Regions from separate parts of the Homo sapiens genome. Here all the other regions are linked to region 2. The links are contacts of gene promoters, found by promoter capture Hi-C in blood cells and fetal thymus (Javierre and others, 2016). All regions are on one chromosome and are shown on one strand. Each heading gives the region's core, a stretch centred on a gene start or on the middle of the fragment in contact. The rest is flanking DNA. Distances are from core to core; before and after follow the strand shown. Region 1 holds the start of SLC2A4 (solute carrier family 2 member 4). Region 2 holds the start of FXR2 (FMR1 autosomal homolog 2). Region 3 has its middle 19 kb from the start of ALOX15B. Region 4 holds the start of DVL2 (dishevelled segment polarity protein 2). Region 5 holds the start of ALOX15B (arachidonate 15-lipoxygenase type B). Region 6 holds the start of CTDNEP1 (CTD nuclear envelope phosphatase 1). Region 7 holds the start of TRL-TAG1-1 (tRNA-Leu (anticodon TAG) 1-1).

Region 1 (2,984 bases), core at 1-2,500, 330 kb before region 2:
AGGAGGAATCGAGCCTGACTTCTACCATAGGGGTGACTGGGCGGGTAATTCATTGAAATAAGGAAGTTAGGAGGAGGAGCAGGTTTGGACATGCTGATCACTAGAGCTGCCACATCCGGGCGGTAACGAACACCTGGATCTGCAGCTCCAGAGAAGGGCCTGGGTCAGATGTCACTGAAGCCCTATGGTGGCGGAAAGGCGAGAAATAGTGGGTTGAGATTCCAAGTGCAATCCACTGCGGCTCCTCGCTCGCCCTCCAGGTGGCAGCACAACCCTGCGCTTCCGAAGCCCGTTTTCTGAGCCAGACACTCTCCACGCTCTGGGTATTTCGGCTTCTCTCTCCCCACACGCCGACCCTAGGTCGCGCACTTTCTGCCTGGCAGAATTTGGCCGAGGATCCAAACCCGGAGCAGCCTCCAGAGAGCGTGTCGTTCACGCGGCCAGCATATGCTCAGAGACCTCAGAGGCTCAGAGACCTCAGGGCTGGTGGTGTGGTCGGTTGTGACCACTTGTCCCTCGGACCGGCTCCAGGAACCAACCTGGGGAATGTGTGTAGGGGAAGGGCGGGATAGACAGTGCCCGGAGCAGGGAGGCGCTGAAAGACAGGACCAAGCAGCCCGGCCACCAGACCCGTTGTGGGAACGGAATTTCCTGGCCCCCAGGGCCACACTCGCGTGGGAAGCATGTCGCGGACTCTTTAAGGCGTCATCTCCCTGTCTCTCCGCCCCCGCCTGGGACAGGCCGGGACGCCCGGGACCTGACATTTGGAGGCTCCCAACGTGGGAGCTAAAAATAGCAGCCCCGGGTTACTTTGGGGCATTGCTCCTCTCCCAACCCGCGCGCCGGCTCGCGAGCCGTCTCAGGCCGCTGGAGTTTCCCCGGGGCAAGTACACCTGGCCCGTCCTCTCCTCTCAGACCCCACTGTCCAGACCCGCAGAGTTTAAGATGCTTCTGCAGCCCGGGATCCTAGCTGGTGGGCGGAGTCCTAACACGTGGGTGGGCGGGGCCTTTTGTTCCAGGGACTCTTTTCTCAAAACTTCCCAGTCGGAGGCTGGCGGGAACCCGAGAGGCGTGTCTCGCCAGCCACGCGGAGGGGCGTGGCCTCATTGGCCCGCCCCACCAACTCCAGCCAAACTCTAAACCCCAGGCGGAGGGGGCGTGGCCTTCTGGGGTGTGCGGGCTCCTGGCCAATGGGTGCTGTGAAGGGCGTGGCCCGCGGGGGCAGGAGCGAGGTGGCGGGGGCTTCTCGCGTCTTTTCCCCCAGCCCCGCTCCACCAGATCCGCGGGAGCCCCACTGCTCTCCGGGTCCTTGGCTTGTGGCTGTGGGTCCCATCGGGCCCGCCCTCGCACGTCACTCCGGGACCCCCGCGGCCTCCGCAGGTTCTGCGCTCCAGGCCGGAGTCAGAGACTCCAGGATCGGTTCTTTCATCTTCGCCGCCCCTGCGCGTCCAGCTCTTCTAAGACGAGATGCCGTCGGGCTTCCAACAGATAGGCTCCGAAGTAGGATTCATCATGAGGGGGCGGGGCGGGGGGGCACGGGTCCCGCTTTTCTTGGGCTGGGGTCGCGGTTGGGGTCAGCTGGGGGTGGTTCCTGCGCAGGCGCAGGGGGTGAAGGTAGGGGGCTGGCTATTTATACCCGGCCTGGACAACCCGTGACTGTGAGATTCCAATCCTACCAAAAGGCAGAGTGGGTCTGGAGGGCCTTTCGGGGCACAGGCAGCAAGTGGATTCTGCGAGCCAGGGTTCACCCCCTTGCCTAGTAGGCGGCGCGGCGCTCCGGAATCGGGGACACCCTGCCCTCGATCCGACTCGGGAAAGCAGATCCAGGCGGGTCTTGCCCTCCGGGAGCTGTCCGTCCGTCTTCGCTCACGGGCAGTGTTTCGAGGACCGGAGGCTCTCCGTGGGCCCCCACCCCCACTCCTGGCCGCCCTCCAGGACGCTGAACTTTCCCTTGGCCCCATGGTTGGTGGAGGGGCAGAGGGGACTGTCAGCCCCCCCTCCTCCAGCTCAGGTTTCCGCTTGGAGACAGTCTGTGCCGCCAGCGAGCGGCCACCACTGCCACCGCCCCTCACACTACCTTCCTGCCCTCCTCCCCTGGGCATGGCTCTCCCAGGCAGAACCCCTGGACGGCCCTCCCTGCACGGAGGTTAGAGGGGGAGGGCAGGCCACGACGTAGATAGAGAAGGCCACCCCTAGATGACCGGGATGTCCTTTCTGGAACAGCACTTCTTGGTCCTGTTGGGGGCCTCCTGGAGCTGGCTGACAGAACCCCCAGAGGGGAGGGAAGAGGACAGTGGCTGATGATAATAATGCACGTGTTAATTTATGAAACCAGCACTGTCAAGGATATTGTTAACATGTGATGTTGATTTTCACAACACTCTCACAGATAGGTAGGCAAGGCAGGCAACATCACCCCCATCTCACAGAGGACACTCAGGTTCGGGGCAGGGAAGTGACTTGGCCAAGGTCACACAAATCTGAGCTCTTAAGGCCAAGCCTGTCTCAAGGTCACAGAAGAATTTTGAGACAAGTTCTCAAACATTTCTCTGCCTTATGGACCCAAACATCCAGTTTCTCCTTTATGCCCAGGTTGCAGTTCAGCTCCTGTTTACATTGAGATCTTTGTGCAATTCCTAATATGGCCCAGTTTCCCTCACCCAACATGTTGGGTGGAGCCCAGTATCTTCAGGCTCCAGCTGGGCCCGGGCCCCTAGCGGAAGGAAAAAAATCATGGTTCCATGTGACATGCTGTGTCTTTGTGTCTGCCTGTTCAGGATGGGGAACCCCCTCAGCAGCGAGTGACTGGGACCCTGGTCCTTGCTGTGTTCTCTGCGGTGCTTGGCTCCCTGCAGTTTGGGTACAACATTGGGGTCATCAATGCCCCTCAGAAGGTGAGGGCCTGCAGCTGGCAGGGTGGGGGTACCCAAACGAGGAGGACAGGTGTCTCGGGGGTGGTGGAAAGGGGACGGTCTGCAGGAAAT
Region 2 (3,058 bases), core at 450-2,949:
AAGGAAAGGGGGAAGGGGGATCCACTCTTAACAAGTGATGCCATGGGAAGGTATCTCTTCCCCAGCTCCCCAGGGTGAAATCAAAGAATGAGACAGAAATCAGGAGAGTCTCTAGGACAATTCCAGGCATCAAATCCAAGAGGTTCAGAATACCAACAGTCACACAAAGAAAAACTCTTGGGAGGCAAGAAAGGGCTCTCTCTGGCTTAATCTAAATGGGAAAAAAATGTCCTAGAAAATAGATTCAGAGCAGATAAGGAAGGTGGTATTATAAGGAGTTCTAAGGAACCAAATCCTGGGCAAAGGGGGAGGTGAAATAAGGAAGGGTCTTTGAAAGATGATCCCGTCTTCCAAAAAAGGTTGTCAGATTCCCGAACTGGGATAGTTGGCCAAGAGTCTTCAAGAAGTGGAAATCTTAAGATAAACAGAAGGGAACCTCATAAGCTTCCTTTCAGAGATCCTTTTAGAGATTATGACTATGAAGCTTACATGCCTCAAGACGAAGAAACTATATGAATGACCTGAAGGTATCTGAGGTCTAAGTGAGACCTCAAATCCATTCCTGAGTAGAATGGTAGAGCAGTGGGTCTTGAGATCAAGGTGTGGTGGGGAGAGAGACTTGCGAAAGATGCCACCTTATGGCTGGCTGGGAAGCAACTTGACTGATCCAACCCAGGGTTCCTGAGGTCAAAGATGCCAAACGTCGTAAATGGATCTGACCATTTCTCCTTGGCTTGGGAACCGGAATATAAGATGAAAGTGGGGTGAGTGTTCCAGAGCCAGTAGGCAGAGGCCTCTCTGAGGAAGATGAAAGGATCTTTTACGGGACAGAGGGCCTTCCCAAAGGGACCGTGTGGAAGAAAGACAATTCTCCATGTGCTTGGATCGTGGGGAAGATGTGATTAAGGTCTAAGGTATGTCTTCCACCAGACAACGGACACAGTCAATTAGAAGCTGGGTAAAGGGGTCTCTCCTGCGGAGCGGGGAGCGCCAAGCCAGGGACAATAATGGCCTGAAGTTCATTCTCCCGGAGATGGGGGTAGAAGCAGGTGCAGGTGCCTTAGAGGGGTCAAAAATAAGAGGAACAGGGTTCACTCTAAGCGGTCTCCCAGGGAAGGCTGCGGGTTGGAGCAAGGGTCCAAGATTCTAAGGGCCAGGACTCAGCTCCAGAAGCTCGATCCCGCCCCACGCGTTCCTGCTCCGGCCAGGGGAGGGGGCTAAGGACCGGCGTCCCCAGTCGGCGCGCCGTCTCACCTTGTAGAAGGCCCCGTTGGAGCCGCGCACCTCGACGGGCAGTCCCGGCTCCACATCCCCCCCAGAGGCCAGGCCGCCCATGGCGCCGCCACCGCCTCCGACTCCCCCGGCGGCGGCTGCAGCAGCAGTCTGAGTGCGGGCCGGGCCAGGCCCCCGGCGTCTCCCCGGAGGAGGAGCCGGAGGGGGAGCCGCGGGGGGCGGGAGCCGGGCCGGCCCCACGGCGGCCCTGCCACAGCCAACGAGCAGGGGGCCGGGGCCGGGCCGCTCCCCGTCCGCCGCCGCCGCCTTGGTCTCCGCCACCGTGAGGGAAACGGCCGCCGCCGCCGCTGCCTTCGTCACCTCAGCTTCCGCCCGCCGCCGCCCCCGCTGCTGCCTCAGTCCCGGGACCCGCTGCTGCCGCTGCCGCTCCACAGCCTCCACCTCCCCCTGCCACCGCCGCCTACTGCGCAGGCGCACCGGGCACCCGCCCGCTGCGCGCGGGGCCCCGAGGGCCACCGCGCAGGCGTCAAGGTTAGAGCCCCAGCTAGCGCCAGCTAGCGCATCGGGGCTTCCACATTCCCTTTCACTCTCTCACTCCCCCTCCTGGTCGCTTGCTAGCGCTTGCGCAGAACAAGATTAGCCTTCTTTCTTCACCGCTCCACCGCCCAGCCACCCCGTCTCTTCCTTTCCCCGCCCCACAACACTGAGAACCAACCAATCAGGGGGAGGGAGGGGCCGGGCTCGCTCAGTCCGATTGGGCGGCGTCCGCACAGTCACACAGCGCTCAGGCCACACCCACTCCGCCGCCGCTGGCCCCACCGGGCTTGGACAAGTTAGGGATGGGCATGCGCCTGAACGACTGCTTGGTCACTTTCCCCACCTTTGTCTTTCTTGGTGCGCACGCTCCAAAAAGAAAAAAAAAAGAAGAGGAGTCGCCGCAAGGAAAAAGGTGCTTGGTGCGCACGCGCTGAGCTTTACCCTCTTCGCGTATGCATCGCCGATATTTTAAGAATCTGTAACTCTCTACTGTAGTAGATTTAACAGTCATGGCTCTTACCTTGAAGAGATTGTGATACAATGAAAGTTTTGGCCGGGCGCGGTGGCTCACGCCTGTAATCCCAGCGCTCTGGGAGGCCGAGGCAGGTGGATCACCTGAGGTCCTCGGATCACCTGAGGTCAGGGGTTCGAGACCAGCGTGGCCAAAATGGTGAAACCCACCCCCCCCCCCACCCCGCATCTAATAAAATACAAAAATTAGCCGGGCGTGGTGACACGCGCCTGTAATCCCAGATACTCGGGAGGCTGAGGCAGGAGACTACCTTGAACCTGGGAGGCAGAAGTTGCAGTGAGCCAAGATCGCACCATTGCACTCCAGCCTGGGCGACAGAGCAAGACTCAGTCTCAAAAAAAAAAAAAAAAGAAAGAAAGAATAGAAAGAAAGCTTTAAGAATAGTTTCAGACGGGCGCTGTGGCTCACTCCTGTAATCCCAGCACTTTAGGAGGCTCAGGCGGTGGATCACTTGAGCCCAAAAGTTTGACACCAGCCTCAACAGGGCGAAACCCTGTTTCTACTAAAAATACAAAAATTAGGACGGGCGCGGTGGCTCAGGCCTGTAATCCCAGCACTTTGGGAGGCCGAGATCACGGGCGGGCGGATCACGAGGTCAGGAGATGGAGACCATTCTGGCCAACATGGTGAAACCTCGTCTCTACTAAAATACAAAAAATTAGCCGTGGTAGTTCCAGCTACTCGGAAGGAGTCCCAGCTACTCAGGAGGCTGAGGCAGGAGAATCGCTTGAACCTAGGAAGGTGGAGGTTGCAGTG
Region 3 (3,462 bases), core at 614-3,113, 440 kb after region 2:
CGGTGCTCAGGCGTTGACCACTCCTTTGATGTACAGGCCTGTGGGTTTGAAGGGCTGTTTGCTTTCACGTCCTGTTCTGTTCTATTAGCCGCTTAGTTGGACTCTGATGATTATCTGTAAGTTAAACATAGAGTATTAGCTTACGTAGTGGAACAGTAAATAGTATTAACTGGCTAATGACCGACACAGCAGGCTCCGCCACCTCTCCCTATGCTCACCCAATGATCACCTCACCATCAGCCCACCCTCAGCCTATAGGATCAAAGGAACTGTACTCAATAAATATCAGTGGAACCCAGAGCTCCTGGCCTTTGCAATCTCCACGTTGCGATGGATCCTTGGACCCACTTTTGTTAACTCTTAAACTTTGTGTCTTTGTCTTTATTTCTTTTCTCATTCCCTCGTCTCCACCGGGAAGGGGAGAGCCTGCGGGTGGTGTATCAGGCAGGTTCCCCTACATCTTTGGCACCCAACACGGTCTCCTTGAACCCAGGTGAAGTTACACCTGAGCGTGGTCGTTGTGAAGAACGGTCTGTCCAGGAACTCCCGAGAACGTGTGGTCGGCCTTGCGGTAAGCTTGTGCACTCGGAGCATTCCAGGGACACCATGGGACAATCCAAAAGTAAACATTCTGCATATTTACATTTTATTAAGCTCCTCTTAAAGAGGGCAGGAATTAAGGCTAGCACAGAAAATTTGATTACTCTGTTTCCAACAGTAGAGCAATATCGTCCTTGGTTTCCTGAACATGGTACCATGGACTTCAAAGATTGGGAACAGGTGGGAATTGCCTTAAAACAAGTTTGTAAGGAAGGAAAATTTATCCCCCTAACAGCCTGGTCAAACTGGGCTATAGTTAAAGCAGCCTCGGAACCGTTTCAATCGGAAAATGAGGCTTATCCTCCAGCAGAAAGAATTTCTGCAGAGGAAGGTGGTGATGCTGCTGAAGGAGGAGAGGATAGTGAAGAAGATTTTGAGGAAAATACAGACAAACCTGGAGATGAGTTAATTTCTTTTGAGGAGCACGTGGGACCTTCAGCTGCTCCTAAAATAGAGAAGCCATATATGCCAAGATGTTTAAAACAAAGAAGGGCCTTGAGGAGCAGTCGGCTCCTCATTGGGATCATCCGGAGTGGCCGCCTCCAATAAAGCAATGTAGCTTGGAGCCTTGGAGGTCTGAATCTCAAATTTGCCCTGTTTCACGAATGAATGAATTGTGGCCTCAGGAACCACGAGCGCATGGTGTAGCACCAGTACAACATAAGGCTGCACTGCCATCTAATGTTAATGAATCGCCATTACAGTTTACTATTCGGCAGGCTAGATTAGCCGGAGATCTTGATGCCTGGCAGTTTGCAGTAGTTTTGCAACCCCCACGACAGCAAGGTGGAGCCCATCAAGCGGTATGGGAACCATTTTCTTTTAAGCTGCTCAAAGATCTTAAAGCAGCTGTTGGTCAGTATGGTCCCAATTCGCCTTTCATCCGATCGCTATTGCAATCTGTGGCTCAGAATAAGCTATTGACTCCGTGTGATTGGGAGATTTTAACGAAAGTTACACTTTCGCCCTCCCAATTTCTTCAGTTTAAGACTTGGTGGACCGACGAGGCTCAAAATCAAGATCGAAAAAACCGTGCTGCTAATCCTGCTATTGCCATTACATTTGAACAACTTCTAGGAATAGGGGGTCAATGGGGAACTGTAAACAACCATCAGGACTTCGAGATGATGCCATTGAACAAATTCGCAATTGCTGTTTGAGGGCATGGGAGAAAATTCAGGATCTGGGAACTACTTATCAGTCTTTTAATTCTATTAGACAAGGCTCAAAGGAACCATATCCTGATTTCATTGCTCGCCTTCAAGACGCAGCACAGAAGGCTCTCACTGATGAAAGTGCCAGGAAGGCCGGGTGCGGTGGCTCATGCCTGTAATCCCAGCACTTTGGGAGGCCGAGGTGGGCGGATCACCTGAGGTCGGGAGTTGGAGACCAGCCTGACCAACATGGAGAAACCCCGTCTCTACTAAAAATATAAAAATTAGCCGGGCGTGATGGCACATGTCTGTAATCCCAGCTACTCAGGAGGCTGAGGCAGGAGAATTGCTTGAACCCAGGAGGCGGAGGTTGCGGTGAGCCGAGATCACGCCACTGCACTCCAGCCTGGGTAACAAGAGCGAAACTCCGCCTCAAAAAAAAAAAAAAAAAAAGAAAGAAAGAAAGAAAGTGCCAGGAAGGTGATTGTAGAATTATTGGCTTGTGAGAATACTAACCCTGAATGCCAGTCAGCTATTCACCCAGTGAAAGGAAAGGTTCCGGTGGGAGTTGATGTGATTAATGAATATATCAGGGCATGTAATGGAGTTGGTGGAATCATGCATAAGGCTATGATAATGGTTCAAGCCACGACAGAGTTAAAAGTGGGAGGTCCAATTAAAAACTTTTCAGGCAATTGTTACAATTGTGGGCAATTTGGACACACAAAAAAGGAACGTAAGAACAAATCGAACAAACAGGCAAGATATAATCAAATAAAAGAACCACCTGGCTTATGTCCCAGGTGCCAGAAGGGTAAACATTGGGCTAATCAGTGTCACTTCAAATTTGACAAAAATGGCCAACCGTTACAACCGCAGTCGGGAAACAGGAAGAGGGGCCAGCCTCAGGCCCCGCTCCAAACGGGGGCATTCTCACTCCAGCAGTTGGTCCCTCAGTCGGTCATTGCCTCTAGTCCAACCACCATCATTGTCTCTTGCCCAACCACCACAGTAACACAATTGGCGCCAGCTACAGCAGGGAGTACAGGCTTAGATTTATGTTTCCCAAAAGCTATCTCTCTGCTTCCAGGGAAATCCCCTCAAAAAGTCCCCACTGGAGTATTTGGCCCTTTACCTGATGGACAGTTGGACTTGTTTTAGGAACATCTAGTCTAAACTTAAAAGGAGTTCAGATTCATACTGGGCTGATTGATTCAGATTTTGTGGGAGAAATTCAATTGGTTATTAGTTCCAGTATTCCTTGGAGTGCAAACCCAGGAGATAGAATTGCTCAGCTGTTGTTATTACCTTATGTAATAGTAGAAAAAAGTACAGTAAAAAGAGAAAGTGGTTTTGGCAGTACTGACAGTGAAGGAAAAGCAGCCTATTGAGTAAATCAAGCTTCTAAAAACAGACCTGTGTGCACAATGATTCAGGGAAAACAGTTTGAAGGACTGGTAGACACAGGTGCTAATATTTCAATTATAGCTCTAAATCAGTGGCCAAAAGCGTGGCCCCGACAAAAGGCTTCTATGGGCTTGATTGGAGTAGGCACAGCATCTGAAGTCTATCAAAGTGCTACAATTTTACATCGTTTAAGACCAGATGGGCAGGAAGTCACCATCCAACCTATGATTACTTTCATTCCCATTAATTTGTAGGGGAGAGATTTGTTACAGCAATGGGGTACAGAAATCACCATTCCCCC
Region 4 (3,305 bases), core at 121-2,620, 380 kb before region 2:
ATAAACACAAAAGGGCTTTCTCTGCATTATTTACACGCCAATCTAGTCCAAGATAGCCCTGAATGTCCCAAATTACCCTAGGATAGCCCAATCTATTCTAGCACAGCCTACAATGCCCCCACACGCAGCTGTCTGCACCAGTCTAGATTGGAACATCCCAATACGGCTGCCTGTGCTAGCACAGGCCCCAACAGCCTTGTCTGCCCCTATACCGAGTGCTCCAATAAAACCAAGTCTTGCCCCAAGAGAAACCAGGATTAACCAATACAACCCAGTAGAGTCCATAATGGCCCAAGTGTTTTTTGTTTTTTTTCTGAGACGGAGTCTCGCACTGTCGCCCAGGCTGGAGTGCAGTGGCGCGATCTCGGCTCACTGCAACCTCCGCCTCCCAGGTTCAAGAGATTCTCCCTGCTTCAGCCACCCAAGTAGCTGGGACTACAGGCGCGTGCCCCCACGCCCGGCTAATTTTTTGTATTTTTAGTTAGTAGAGATGGGGTTTCACCGTGTTAGCCAGGATGGCCTCGATCTCCTGACCTCGTGATCCGCCCGCCTCAGCCTCCCAAAGTGCTGGGATTACAGGCGTTACAGGACTCCTGAGAACGTACTAAACAACCAGACAATGGATCAATTTACTCAGTACAGACTAGAATACTCCAACATAAACCAGTATGCCCCCACCTATTCCAGTAAAGCCTAATCTTGTCTAATCTGGTTTAGGATATCCTAGTCTGTCCGTGTGCCTCAATCTATCCAAGCATAACCTTGTCCATCCTGGGATAGTCAACCTACCTCAGCATAGTACAATCTGCTCCACCATAGGCCAGAAAATCCCAGTGTGGCCCAAAGTAGACGTGTGCCCCTCCATGTCGCCCAATCCACTCTAGCAAAGCCCCCGCCGGTCCTATCTAGGCCTTGCGCTCACCCGAAATCCTGATCCATAGACTTGAAAAAGTACTTGGCGCCCGCGGGCCGCTGCAGGACGCTCTTGAAATCGCCGAGGGTGATGCGCTCGGCGGGGACAGGGATCTTCACCAGGTAGGGAGTCTCTTCCTCATCCAGGTGGTAAATCACCTTCGTCTCCCCAACCCCACCGCCCCCAGTGCTGCTACCCGCCATGGTCTCGCCCGCGCGCTCCCGGGCTCCACCGCCCACCCAAAGGGCTAATGGCCCCTGCCGCGCCTGCGCACACCCGCAAACCGACGCGCGAGCGCGGACAGGACTGACCCAGTACGGGAGAGAAGCAAAGGGGAAAAAGCACGGATCTGCGAGGGTGGCGGCGGGGGGCGGGCCGCGGGGTGCGACTCAAAGCCCCGGTCTCAGCGGCCGCCGCGCGCCACCGCCACCGACGCCGCGAGCTTCCTCCAGGTACCCGCCCACCTCTCCTCATGTCACGTGACTTAAAGGCAGCCACCCCGCGCTCCTCAGCCGCCCTCCGTCACGTGATCCCCTCCCAATCACGTGACCGTCTGACTCCGCCTAGTGCCCCCGCCACATGATCGCTGCCTTCAGCAACGGTCTCCCAGCCCCCAAACGTGTACCCCAGCCGAGGTCCTCTGAGCACCCAGGCTAAGCTGGCCTGTGCCTTCAGGAAACGGACCATCGGCTCCCACCCCGCTTTACCCCACCCACGATGGAGCACGAAGCAACTCTGACCCGCAGGAGTGTGCGTGCAGGGAGTGAAGGTGGGGACTGTGGGGGTTCCTAGACTCGAGTGGGGAGGGCCAAATACAATGAAAGCTCTAAGGTGGCTTACTTGTCTTGGGGTGGGAAAGGCCCAGTGCTGTGATATCTTCAGATTGGACTTTGAGACGTGGGTTTCAGCCCCACCTCCAGCTAGTCTTCAGCCACCAAAGCCTCCCTCCCGAGCAGGACAGTGAGGGCTATAAACACAAAAGAGCCCACTCTGCTTTATTTACAACACGCAGGCTGTCTGTACAAACAGCGGCCGATATTATTAAAAACAAAAGAGGTGAGTGAGAATCGTCACCTTTCTGCTTTCCTTCCTCACTTGGCCAGGCTCTAGTACTCCACCTTTGAGCTGCCATGCCCAATAGGGGAAGTCCAAAATTAAAAATACAACCGGTGTAGAAGAAAATAAATGGGGAGTGAAATAGAAGAAAAGATGAGGGAGGGGAGTGCTAATATTTACACTAGAGTTTTATAGACAACTGTCCCATTCCATCCCAATTCCAATCCTGACCCAGAAAGTGATGGTGGCAGGTCCAAGAGACAGAGATTATGTGTCGGGACACAGACAGCCTCCCATCCCCAACCGTAATGGATTCAATTTCAAGTCCACAGAGTGGGGAGGAAGGATAGGGTGGGAAAGTGAGACACTCATTTTCAAACAAGTCTCCCTTGAGAATTCCTGCCTTGAAGTGCAGACAGTATCCAAGCTCCAGGGGATAGGCTGAGGACCCTGAGGCTCAGTTCCCAAATCATGTTGTCATTTGGAAGTTCCAGGCTAAAGTTGGTGCCATCAGGGCTCTCCAGATTTGGGAGGCCCCCCTAACCGCCGGGCCTCTGGCCTCAGTTCCTTGCATTTCTGGCAATAAAAGAAGTCGGGGACGTTGGTCTTCTTAATCTTAGCACAGGAGAGGTGGATCCACGTCCCACACAGGCTGCACTCAATCATGGGCCGCCCTGCAAAGGGCTTTCGACAGTAACATGTGATCAGATCCCATGAGTCATCACCTGGGGAAAAAAAGGTTTGTTTGGTATTCTGCCTGAGCTGTTGGATCCACAACACCCTCAAACCCCTCGCCCCAGCCCGAACCTCTCACCTGATTCTACCATGATGTCCTCGTCCATGACCCGCATCTCGCCTTCACTGGAGCTGGCATCTCCATCTTGGCTTGTTTCAGTGCTGCCCACCTCCTTGCTTTCACTGTCAGCAGGAGGGACTCCTTCAGGGTGCACTGTGGCAGGGGGCCTAGGAGCCTCAGGGGGTGTTGGCAGCACAGGGACTGGGGCTTCACCCCCTACCACTGTTGCCATCTCTTCTTCTTCTTCCTCTTCCTCCTCTTCCTCCTCCTCTTCAGAGTCTGTATCACTGGGGGGTGCCTGGGGAGGCCCAGGAGGTGGGAGTCTATCCCCCCGTTCTGCCTTTTTTAACTTCCGCTTCTTGCTCTTCTTGATTCGAGATCTCTTTTCCCCATCCCCAGGAGTTGGCCGAGGCCTCCGAAGCACCCCAAAGCCAGCCCCAGCTCCTGGCCCCAACTTTCGGTTCTTTCGGTCCTTCTTTCGAGGAGGATGGGAGAGGTCCCCCTGGGAAAGGGGCACGGGGGTAAGAGCAGCAGGGGGCC
Region 5 (2,972 bases), core at 117-2,616, 420 kb after region 2:
CTTGGATGTCTAATGGCCATCTCAAACTTAGCATCTCCAGACCGAAAACCCCAAATCTGTTATGTTATTCCCCCAAAGCCCAAATCCATAACTTCCCCTTGGCATCTCTCCCCCAAATCCCTCCCTCACTGCACTCTTGCCTTTCCCTCCTCCAACAAGCCAAGCTTTTCCTAACCACAGGGCCTCTTCAGGAACAGTTTCCTCTGCACAAAACTCTGTTCCCCAGACAGATCCTTTCACCTCCTCTGAGGCTCTGAACGCCTCCCTTCCCACCTCTGCTTCTCACTCCTTCACATTAGTCTGTTTCATTTCCTTCATTGCACTTATTATCATCTGAAATTATGTGTTGGTTTACTTATTTTCTCTCACACTTGATTTTTTTTTTTTAGACCGAGATTTGCTCTGTCGCCCATGCTGGAGTGCAATGGCACAACTTCACCTCACTGAAACCTCCGCCTTCCGGGTTCAAGCTATTCTCCTGCCTCAGCCTCCTGAGTAGCTGGGACTACAGGCGCCCGCCACCACGCTTGGCTAATTTTTTTGTATTTTTAGTAGAGATGGGGTTTCACCATGTTGGCCAGCAACTGTGCCTGGCCTCACACTTGATTTTTAATCTCCATGAGAGCAAGCACTAGGTCTTGCCTGGGCCTTTATCAATAGCAGTGAGCATAGCACCTGGCACAGAGGTAGTTCTGAACATTAATTATTGAATGAAATAAAATAATGAATGTAGGCTGGGCGCGGTGGCTCACGCCTGTAATCCCAGCACTTTGGGAGGCCGAGGCAGGCGGATCATGAGGTCAAGAGATCAAGATCATCCTGGCCTACATGGTGGAACCCCGTCTCTACTAAAATACAAAAATTAGCTGGGCATGGTGGCACTCGCCTGTTGTCTCAGCTACTGGGGAGGCTGAGGTAGGAGAATCACTTGAACCCAGGAGGAGGAGGTTCCAGTGAGCCGAGATCATGCTGCTGCACTCCAGCCTGGCGACAGAGCAAGCCTCTGTCTCAAAAATAAATAAATAAATAAATTTTAAAAATAATGAACGCAGGCCCAAGAAGAGTTGTGGGAAATGGGGTGATATTTTTGCATAGACTTCTAAGGCTAAGAAGGAAAACAAACAGACGTGGTGGGCACAAATCTACCCCCACCCCAACTGGGTCCCAACTCTAGGCTCTCTGGCCTGGCACCACCACTGAAAGGCCCCGTTCCCCAAACCTCAGGGTATTCTTAGTCCCTCCTGTTCCCAGCGCTGCCAATCCCCCGCCCACCCCCACTTTAGTTGCGTGTTCCAGCCTCTCCGCCCCGCCCCTCCCCGCCCTGAAACGGACGTGCTTTTTAGAGGAGTCCACTGGGCTTGGAGTCAGTGGCAATAACCAGGGGCAATAACCAGGCGTGTCCCAGGGGGGAGCCCCGCTCTGCAGCCCTGTGCGCCGTAGAGAGCTGGACTTAGGCTGGCAGCATGGCCGAGTTCAGGGTCAGGGTGTCCACCGGAGAAGCCTTCGGGGCTGGCACATGGGACAAAGTGTCTGTCAGCATCGTGGGGACCCGGGGAGAGAGCCCCCCACTGCCCCTGGACAATCTCGGCAAGGAGTTCACTGCGGGCGCTGTGAGTGCGTGGGAGTGGATGGGGTGGAGGTGAAGGGGGCGAGCAGGAGGGTCCGGCCTGACGCATACTTAACCTCCCCTCAGGAGGAGGACTTCCAGGTGACGCTCCCGGAGGACGTAGGCCGAGTGCTGCTGCTGCGCGTGCACAAGGCGCCCCCAGTGCTGCCCCTGCTGGGGCCCCTGGCCCCGGATGCCTGGTTCTGCCGCTGGTTCCAGCTGACACCGCCGCGGGGCGGCCACCTCCTCTTCCCCTGCTACCAGTGGCTGGAGGGGGCGGGGACCCTGGTGCTGCAGGAGGGTACAGGTGAGGGGCGGGCCGGGCTGGGGCTGCAGGGGGAGCACAGGAAGGGGTAGGGGACTGGGGGTTGGGGAGAAGGGCAGGTGAAATGGAGAGGTGAGCTGGTGTGGCCACAGAGTAGCGGGCAGAGGAGAGGGAATGGCGGAGCCTTGGGGAGCGGGAGGTAGCAGCCTGGTGTAGGAGAAACTGTACTTATGGGAGGAGGGGACCTGGTAGAGGGTGGCAATCGTGGAGACTGTGTGGCTGGTGGTAGTGATGGTGAGTTTCTCTCCCCACCCCAACCTACTCCCCTTCTCCCACAGCCAAGGTGTCCTGGGCAGACCACCACCCTGTGCTCCAGCAACAGCGCCAGGAGGAGCTTCAGGCCCGGCAGGAGATGTACCAGTGAGGAGGGGGTTACTGATGGGGGAGGGTGTGCCCAAACGATGAGGGGCAGCTTGAGTGTCCTGGTCATGACAGAGATTAAAAGCCCCTGCCTCCACCTCTCCTATCAAAGCTGCTCCTGGGATCAGCAGCGTCTACAGGAACGTATTAGAAATGCAAATTCTCAGGCCACCTCCAACCTACTACGACACTGAGGGTGTAGAGTGGGAATTTTTGTTTTGACAAGCCTTCCAGATGACTCTGGTGGCCACTGATGTTTGAAAAACACTGCTCTAGGGCCAGGTGCCGTGGTGGCTCACACCTGTAATCTCAGCACTTTGGGAGGCTGAGGGAGGCGGATCACTGGAGGTCGGGAGTTCGAGACCAGCCTGGCCAACAGGGCGAAACCCCATCTCTACTAAAAATACAAAAATCAGCTGGGTAGGGTGGCGGGCACCTGTATTCTCAGCTACATGGGAGGCTGAGGCAGAAGAATAGCTTGAACCCGGGTGGTGGAGGTTGCAGTGAGCCGATCACGCCATTGCACTCCAGCATGGGGGACAGAGCAAAACTCCATCTCAAAAAAAGAAAAAAAAAAAGGAAGGAAGGAAAAGGAAGGAAAGAGAGAAAGAAAGAGAGAGAAAGAAAGAAAGAAAGAAAGAAAGAAAGAAAGAAAGAAAGAAAGAAAGAAAAGAAAGAGAA
Region 6 (3,358 bases), core at 859-3,358, 360 kb before region 2:
AACCGCTGGAGGCCGGGTGCAGTGGCTCAATCCCAGTACTTTTGTGAGGCCAAGGCGGGCAGATCACTTGAGGTCAGGAGTTTGAGACCATCCTGGCCAACATGGTGAAAACCCGTTTCTACTAAAATTACAAAAATTAGCCAGGTGTGGTGGCAGGTGCCTGTAATCCCAGCTATTCGAGAGGCTGAAGCAGGAGAATCGCTTGAACCCAGGAAGTGGAGGTTGCAGTGAGCGGAGATGGCACCACTGCACTCCAGCCTGGGCGACAAAGCGAGACTGTCTCAGAAAAGAAAAGAAAACCCCAGGAGATAGCCCCACACATATCCCAGCATCTCTGACCCTAAATTTTTCTTGGCTCCTAGCTCTTGTCTCGGGGGAATAGCGCTGCTGCCTACAGCCACAACCATCCTGTACTGTTCGCGCCCTAAATCAGGAAGTGGAAGCAGACTGGTAAAGGACAGAATGAACCCAAGGCCAGACCCATTCTCCCAAATCAGTTAAATCAACCACCACTACCACTGAGGGCTTTCTGGAAATTCTCTGGACCCCAGGTCACCCCAACCTGGGTTTATTCTTTCAAATTGTATTGAGGTATGCTAAGGGGTACAGACCACAGTACAGACCCAGAACCTGTGTCTCCGCTTACTAAATTCTCCCCAGACTCCTTCCGAGGATTCTCCCTGGTGGTGGTGAGACCACAAGAGCACATTCATTTAAAGTGCTGTTAGCTGAAGGACCTCTGACCTTGGAGAAAAGCTAAGGGAGAGGGGACCCAGAGATGCTTGGGTCCATCCGGACAGTTTCCCTCAGAATGCTAGGCTCTCCTGGAGAAGCAAACGTCCTCATTTTCAAGCCCTACAACTGCCCAGCGCTGTCCTCTGACAGGGACACCCAAACTTCAATGGTGGGCACAGCACCCACCTTGAACTCCCTCCCACAATTAAAGAGGCCCATCGTAAAAGCATCTGCTTTAGTCTTCAATAAATCCAGATACCTACACTCACACTATGAAATAAATTTTCACAGCCTTTTTGGAGGAATTCTCTTAATGGGAACCGCAGGCGTTTCTCCTTCACACCCAGGGCTTTCCCAAGTTCCCGTCCTTGTTTGTAACGTATGCCCTCCCACCCACCTCCACCCTTGACACACAAGTCTGTCTCTTCCTTGTTATAGGACCAAACACACACCGAGGTTCCAAATAGGGTCTTTCCCAAGCCCACATCCACAGATCCGGCTGTCATCAAACAGGTGTTCCCCGCCTCTTGGTTTCTTTAGCAACAACTCCAGCTTTCTTAAAGAGCGCCCCACCCACCACCTTAGCCCCCAAGAGTTGCCAAATCCTGTCCCATCTAGCCCCATCAAAACCCCCAAGGGCAAGGTTCTATTACAAGGGTCTCCCACCTCGCCCCGCTTAGGGTGCCCAATTCTCTGGCGAGAAAAGCCCCAGCCAGGATTCCCTTCCTAGGCCCAAACAGAGGCCCGACACTCCGAAAACCCCTGAGCACCACGGACAGATGTCCCCAACACCGCCAGACGTCCCCAACACCGCCAGCGCCCACCCTGGCTCACCGTGCGGATCTGCCTCCGCAGAAGGTAAATGAAGAAGCTCCAGAGCTTGGCGGCGAAGGCCACGAACGTGCGCAGCCCCAGCAGACACTGCGTCCGCATCATCCCGATGACCCCGGCACCGCCGGCCCCGGGGCCCCCGCGGCCCAGCTCCGCCAGCCCCCCGGGGGCAGCCCCCCGCCGCCGGGAGGGGGAACGGGGGCCCCGAGTGGCAGGAGAGGCTGCAGAGAGGGGCACGGAGCGGGCGGCTCAGAAAGCCACCCCTGGCGAGGGTAAAGCCCAGCGGAACGGGGAGCTGGGGGACAGGCGTGGGCAGCCCGCGGGGGCCCACATGGGCTGGGAGTGGCACCGACGGCTTCGGGGAGGTTGCGGGCCGAGACAGGTAGGGCTAGGATGGGGTCCTCCGAGACCTGGAGGGAAGGGGAAGGATAATTGGGGGAGGGGGCAGTGGGGGAGGGGGCTAGGGAAAAGGGAGGAAGGGAAAAGGGAAGGGGAGGGGGGGAAAGCAGAGAGTGGCCCGCTGCGCAGGCGCGCTAGGGGGCTGCTCGCAGGAACGGGGAGGGCGGGGGCAGCGGCGCGCAAAGGGCCGCGGCAGCGGAGAACGGGCCTGCAGAGCGAAGGAGCAGGGAAGGAGGGGGAGGGGGAGCCGGAGGGCGCAGAGCGCTGGGCCGGAGCGGCCTCCCCCTCCCCGAGCTCGGGGGTCCTTTAGCCGCTGGGGACCGGGGCTGCAGCCTCTGCAGCTGGGTTTCCCACTCTGACAGGCGCCATTTTACCGTCCAAAGGACTCCCTCTTCCTGTCTTTCCCCCTCCTCTTCCCCTTTGACACTACTTCCGGTGGTGACGTGTATTCGCTTCACCGGGACTAAGTTCCTCCTGCGCGGTCTATGGCGGGTAGGTATAAGGAAAGCCAAAAGCACTCCAAGCGAGGCTGCAGTATTGCGCACGCGCAGAAGGTGGCCGCGGGGCGGGGCCTGAGGCGAAGCAGGCCCCGCCTCAAACTGCGTGGGCGGGGAGAGTGACGTCACTTGGCCCGCGCTTAGGGCCCTCGCGGGGGGCTTGTGGGTCCTCCTCCCCCTCCCACTGACAACTGCCCCAACTGCTCTTCCCGCCCCGGTCACAGTGAAAATGTAGACGGGGTCGTTGTCCGTACGACTGTGCGCCAGGGCTCGGGGAGGGGCGCCCTCCGCGTGAGCGCCCCCCTGGGAATATTGAACATAATCACCTCTCATTCCAGACTATGTTAGGTCTTAATGGTGGGAGGACGCCCGAGTGCTCGGCCCGTTTCACCCCGAGGAGGAAGGACACTGGGTCATGACGCCATCAGAGGGCGCCAGAGCAGGGACCGGACGCGAGTTGGAGATGTTGGACTCGCTGTTGGCCTTGGGCGGCCTGGTGCTGCTTCGGGGTGAGAGCCAGAGGCACGGTGGCGGGGCGGGGGGTGCGGTTCGGGCCTGGCTGAGGGGACGGAAGTGGGCAGGAAGGGCCAGGGGTCACAGGCTAGGTGTGGAAATCGCGACGGGTTCGCGAAGGCGGTAATCCCAGCGCTCTCATACCCTTTATCCGTCCCTCGCTCTGCAGATTCCGTGGAGTGGGAGGGGCGCAGTCTCTTGAAGGCGCTTGTCAAGAAATCTGCACTGTGGTGAGTATCCCACAGTGTCTCCCCGGCCTACCCTGGATAGGGCACCTGTGCCCACTCTTTGACAATCCCTTCTCATCTCTGCCTTAGTGGGGAGCAAGTGCATATCCTGGGCTGTGAAGTGAGCGAGGAAGAGTTTCGTGAAGGTTTTGACTC
Region 7 (3,111 bases), core at 316-2,815, 510 kb after region 2:
TTGAAGCTTTTCTTTTAATATCAGCATGTTGAATATTGTTAATTGATTTTCACAGAGGGGATACTCCTATGACCCAAGATAATACGACAAAAAAAAAAAGTAAACTAGGACACTACCAATTATTTGTGCTTTTCCTACCGGATAATTGAGTCCTATAACACAGTGTTAAGAGAACGTACAATAAATTATTTAAATATGTTGGAAGTTGAGCTAACATTTGAAAACATGTTAAAATAGAGATGTTATGAAGAAACGAAATAATAGAGATGTTATGAAGAAACGAAATATTGCTTCAGCAGTTACCATCAGGTCTTAGCTTCTGGGATGGATGCAGGCCTATGATCTCTCTGGAAGACCAAACACGGAAGATGATGGTGAAACCATTACCAGGGGAATTCGTAAAATTACTTTCTGCATGTAAATAGGTGTAACCTCACAGAACTGTTAACAGAACTGTAGCAGGTGCGTAATCCACCAGAAAAACTCCAGCCTGGCAGCGGTGGGATTCGAACCCACGCCTCCGAAGAGACTGGAGCCTAAATCCAGCGCCTTAGACCGCTCGGCCACGCTACCTGCACGAAAACTTACTGTCCCCGTTGTCCTCCTAAGAGACTAGAAGTAAGGAATGGGGCAAATCTTAAGAGTGCCAAATTGATTCGTCTCCTTTTCCACATCTTTTAGACTGGAAATGAAGAACCATCGAGACTGTGGACCGCATAGCAGCAGATGGCAGAACAGATAAACGAGAAGAGACAAAAACACACAGAAATTTACAACAAAACTAGTTTATTTGGGTGGGACTATATCTGGGAGTGGGGAGCGCCTGAGCCGGAAACACCCCCCAAGCGGGCAGCCGGAGCTCTGCACTCGCTCGCTCAGCCATTTTCGGTTGCTCTCCCTCCCTGTTTTTTCGACCCATGTGCGCCCTCTCTCTCACCTGGCTAACATGCTTTGCGCCCGCTACCTCTACCTGGCTTGGCCTCTGAGATCCAAACCGCGCCCTCCTGGCATGTCCCGCCCAAGTCCCTTAGCCCCGCTCCCCAACCCTGCCCCATTCCCACTCTAGTACCCGTAAGCTACAAGACGCCGCCGTTCGTCGGGTGGCTCTGTGGCGCAATGGATAGCGCATTGGACTTCTAGTGACGAATAGAGCAATTCAAAGGTTGTGGGTTCGAATCCCACCAGAGTCGATTTTATTTCAATTTTTCCTTTTTATCCGTTTTTTTCTTAAAGGCCCCCATCCCTTCTCCCCCTACCCTATCTCTCTCTTTCCACCTGGTTTCAATTTCGATCTCAGTTCCCGCTCTGCTCTCTTCTTTACTTACCTGTCTGCCCCGGGGCTTGGGCCATGGAGAGCAGGACTGAGGGTGGGAGACAGAAGGGAAGGGAAAGTGGGCGTGGACGTCGAGATAAAGGCAGGCCCCTGGCTCGGGGACACACGGGGATTTAATAACCACTTTATTCCATGCACTAGGGACTCGGGAAGGGACTGGGACTGGGCTGAGGGGCAGAGAGAGTACAATCCTAGACGCAAGGGAGAAGTTGGGGCAGGGAAAAGGGACAGGAACCAGGGAAATATATATTTATATAGATACTCTAATATAGACCACATCTCACCCGCGCGCTGAGCCCGCGCGCCCCACTGCCCTCCCCAACACCTGCTCGCCCGGACGCCCGGGTCCCTCTGCTGCCCTCGGGCTGGAGTCTCTACCCCACCCCTAGACCCCGCCCCCACCACCCCCCAAGGCTCAGGGCCAAGGTCTCCAGAAAGCGGGCGGCGGGGGCAGCGGGGCCTTGGGCGCCCCGTCTTGTCTGTGAGGCGGCGGTGGCGGCGGCAGCAGTCCGGTGAGGGGCGCCGGCGCGCCAGAATCCCCGGCGCGCGGGGAGCAGAGGGATGGGGACCATGCGCAGCGCGGGCTAGGGTGGCCCTGGTGCACTGGGGGGCGCTGGTGCAGCGCAGGGCCAAGGGCCGGTGCGGCGGGGTCCAGGGATGGGCGCGGCGCTGGAGGCCTCGGATCTACCGGCTTGGGCCGGGGCGGTTTGGGGCGCAGATAGCCGTGCAGCGCGGAGAAGAGCTGGGCGCGGGCGGCCGGGCTGGCGTCGTGCGCGAAGGCCGCCAAGCGAAGCAGGCACTCGCGGAAACCGGACAAGTAGCAGCTGGCGAGCGCCTCGGCGTCCTGGACTGGGGACCGGGGAACCCCTGGAGCCGCGGCGGCTGGTGCGGCCGGCGGGAGCACAGGTGGGCAGGGCAGGGGCCCGGCAGGGGTGAGGGAAGGGGCGGGGCGCAGAGATACCAAGGCCGGACAGGCGCACAGAGACAGGAAGCCAGATGGACGGAAAGAGGGAGAAAATGAGGGAGACACAGAGACAGACACGCGCGGGTGTTATTAACCTCGCCTCGGAGCAGAACCGGCCACTCCCCAAGCCCACCATCCACCGCAGGGCCCGCCCACTCTGCCCCGGCCGGAGCCTCCTGGCGTCCCCCCTCCCTCCCTCCGCTGCCCCACCCCCGCGCTGTACCCGGGGGCTCCACCCGGCTTCGCTCCCTCAAGTAGCCCACGGCGAACTCCAATATCTCCGCTTTCTCCAGCTTCGGGTTCCGGAGGTTCTACAGACGGGAGGGGAGGGCGCAGAGACAGAAAGGGGTGGGGAGAAAGGGGGAAAGTGGCAGGGGGAAGAAGGGAGGGACGGATGCGGGAGCTGGTGGTGCCCCCGATCGCATTTGCGCACTGCCCACAGAACGCGCGACCAAATGCGGAGTGGAGATGACCAAGGAAAGTCCTGGCCCACCCTGAGACGAAACTGTCCAATCCTAGGGGTTGGAACCAATGCCCAACGCGTGAGGAGGAGATTTGAAACCGCAACCCAGGGAATGAAATTAACCACCCGACATAACAGAGGCTGGCTCATCAGAGGCTGGCTGTGGGGGAGGGGGAACCGGACACTTAGAGACCCAAAGGGTGAAACTGACCGACCCCGGGAGCGAAATTTACAGAACCAGGCGTGAAACTTACAGACCCGAGGGGTGGCGAAGAAGATCGCGTTCTGAGAGCGAGTGGGGGTCTGGGATGGAATTCCAAAGGCGGGACTCGGGTGAGGATGCCTTGGGGC

What was found. The method cuts DNA at HindIII sites, captures the fragments that hold promoters and counts their contacts. A CHiCAGO score of 5 or more calls a contact.
Region 1: a contact is called between the fragment with the promoter of SLC2A4 here and the fragment with the promoter of FXR2 in region 2, in 1 of 17 cell types (fetal thymus). The highest score is 5.5, in fetal thymus.
Region 3: a contact is called between a fragment that was not itself captured here and the fragment with the promoter of FXR2 in region 2, in 1 of 17 cell types (total CD8 T cells). The highest score is 6.2, in total CD8 T cells.
Region 4: a contact is called between the fragment with the promoter of DVL2 here and the fragment with the promoter of FXR2 in region 2, in 5 of 17 cell types (fetal thymus, neutrophils, total B cells and 2 more). The highest score is 7.5, in fetal thymus.
Region 5: the fragment with the promoter of ALOX15B here is called in contact with the fragment with the promoter of FXR2 in region 2 in 1 of 17 cell types (activated CD4 T cells); the score reaches 5.1 in activated CD4 T cells.
Region 6: a contact is called between the fragment with the promoter of CTDNEP1 here and the fragment with the promoter of FXR2 in region 2, in 6 of 17 cell types (naive B cells, fetal thymus, total CD8 T cells and 3 more). The highest score is 9.2, in naive B cells.
Region 7: a fragment that was not itself captured here is called in contact with the fragment with the promoter of FXR2 in region 2 in 2 of 17 cell types (naive CD4 T cells and erythroblasts); the score reaches 7.3 in naive CD4 T cells.

Annotation. Positions count from the first base shown.
Region 1 is chr17:7,280,468-7,283,451 of GRCh38, forward strand. SLC2A4 (solute carrier family 2 member 4) reads left to right here and starts at 1,251. Exons shown (of 11, transcript NM_001042.3): 1 at 1,251-1,500; 2 at 2,778-2,894. The coding sequence starts at 1,468. RefSeq lists a silencer at 1,215-1,364 and an enhancer at 1,497-2,484. The HindIII fragment of the contact is 20,977 bases long and covers 1-2,984 here.
Region 2 is chr17:7,613,198-7,616,255 of GRCh38, forward strand. FXR2 (FMR1 autosomal homolog 2) reads right to left here and starts at 1,700. Exons shown (of 17, transcript NM_004860.4): 1 at 1,255-1,700. The coding sequence starts at 1,335. It also overlaps a transcript of SHBG not described here. RefSeq lists silencers at 1,255-1,784, 1,895-1,944. The HindIII fragment of the contact is 2,190 bases long and covers 483-2,672 here.
Region 3 is chr17:8,056,578-8,060,039 of GRCh38, forward strand. No RefSeq gene overlaps it. Among named protein-coding and RNA genes, the nearest start is that of ALOX15B, 19 kb to the left of the region's middle. RefSeq lists enhancers at 1,100-1,617, 1,101-1,170. The HindIII fragment of the contact is 2,579 bases long and covers 575-3,153 here.
Region 4 is chr17:7,233,147-7,236,451 of GRCh38, forward strand. DVL2 (dishevelled segment polarity protein 2) reads right to left here and starts at 1,371. Exons shown (of 15, transcript NM_004422.3): 1 at 923-1,371. The coding sequence starts at 1,116. PHF23 (PHD finger protein 23) reads right to left here. Exons shown (of 5, transcript NM_024297.3): 4 at 2,784-3,305; 5 at 1,892-2,694. The coding sequence ends at 2,480. RefSeq lists a silencer at 1,109-1,408 and an enhancer at 1,519-1,568. The HindIII fragment of the contact is 14,867 bases long and covers 1-3,305 here.
Region 5 is chr17:8,037,693-8,040,664 of GRCh38, forward strand. It overlaps ALOX15B (arachidonate 15-lipoxygenase type B), which reads left to right and starts at 1,367. Exons shown (of 14, transcript NM_001141.3): 1 at 1,367-1,610; 2 at 1,694-1,913; 3 at 2,210-2,291. The coding sequence starts at 1,464. The HindIII fragment of the contact is 10,323 bases long and covers 163-2,972 here.
Region 6 is chr17:7,249,626-7,252,983 of GRCh38, forward strand. It overlaps CTDNEP1 (CTD nuclear envelope phosphatase 1), which reads right to left and starts at 2,109. Exons shown (of 8, transcript NM_001143775.2): 1 at 1,570-2,109. The coding sequence starts at 1,671. It overlaps ELP5 (elongator acetyltransferase complex subunit 5), which reads left to right and starts at 2,590. Exons shown (of 8, transcript NM_203414.3): 1 at 2,590-2,971; 2 at 3,145-3,205; 3 at 3,293-3,358. The coding sequence starts at 2,926. RefSeq lists enhancers at 1,712-2,299, 2,300-2,888, 2,757-2,976 and silencers at 1,837-1,956, 2,027-2,236, 3,007-3,246. The HindIII fragment of the contact is 9,547 bases long and covers 1-3,358 here.
Region 7 is chr17:8,119,823-8,122,933 of GRCh38, forward strand. It overlaps HES7 (hes family bHLH transcription factor 7), which reads right to left. Exons shown (of 4, transcript NM_001165967.2): 3 at 2,521-2,608; 4 at 770-2,215. The coding sequence ends at 1,749. It overlaps TRL-TAG1-1 (tRNA-Leu (anticodon TAG) 1-1), which reads right to left and starts at 573; the gene lies at 492-573. It overlaps TRR-TCT2-1 (tRNA-Arg (anticodon TCT) 2-1), which reads left to right and starts at 1,103; the gene lies at 1,103-1,190. TRQ-CTG1-5 (tRNA-Gln (anticodon CTG) 1-5) reads left to right here; the gene lies at 1. RefSeq lists silencers at 1-48, 419-628, 1,569-2,028, 2,249-2,358. The HindIII fragment of the contact is 3,122 bases long and covers 5-3,111 here.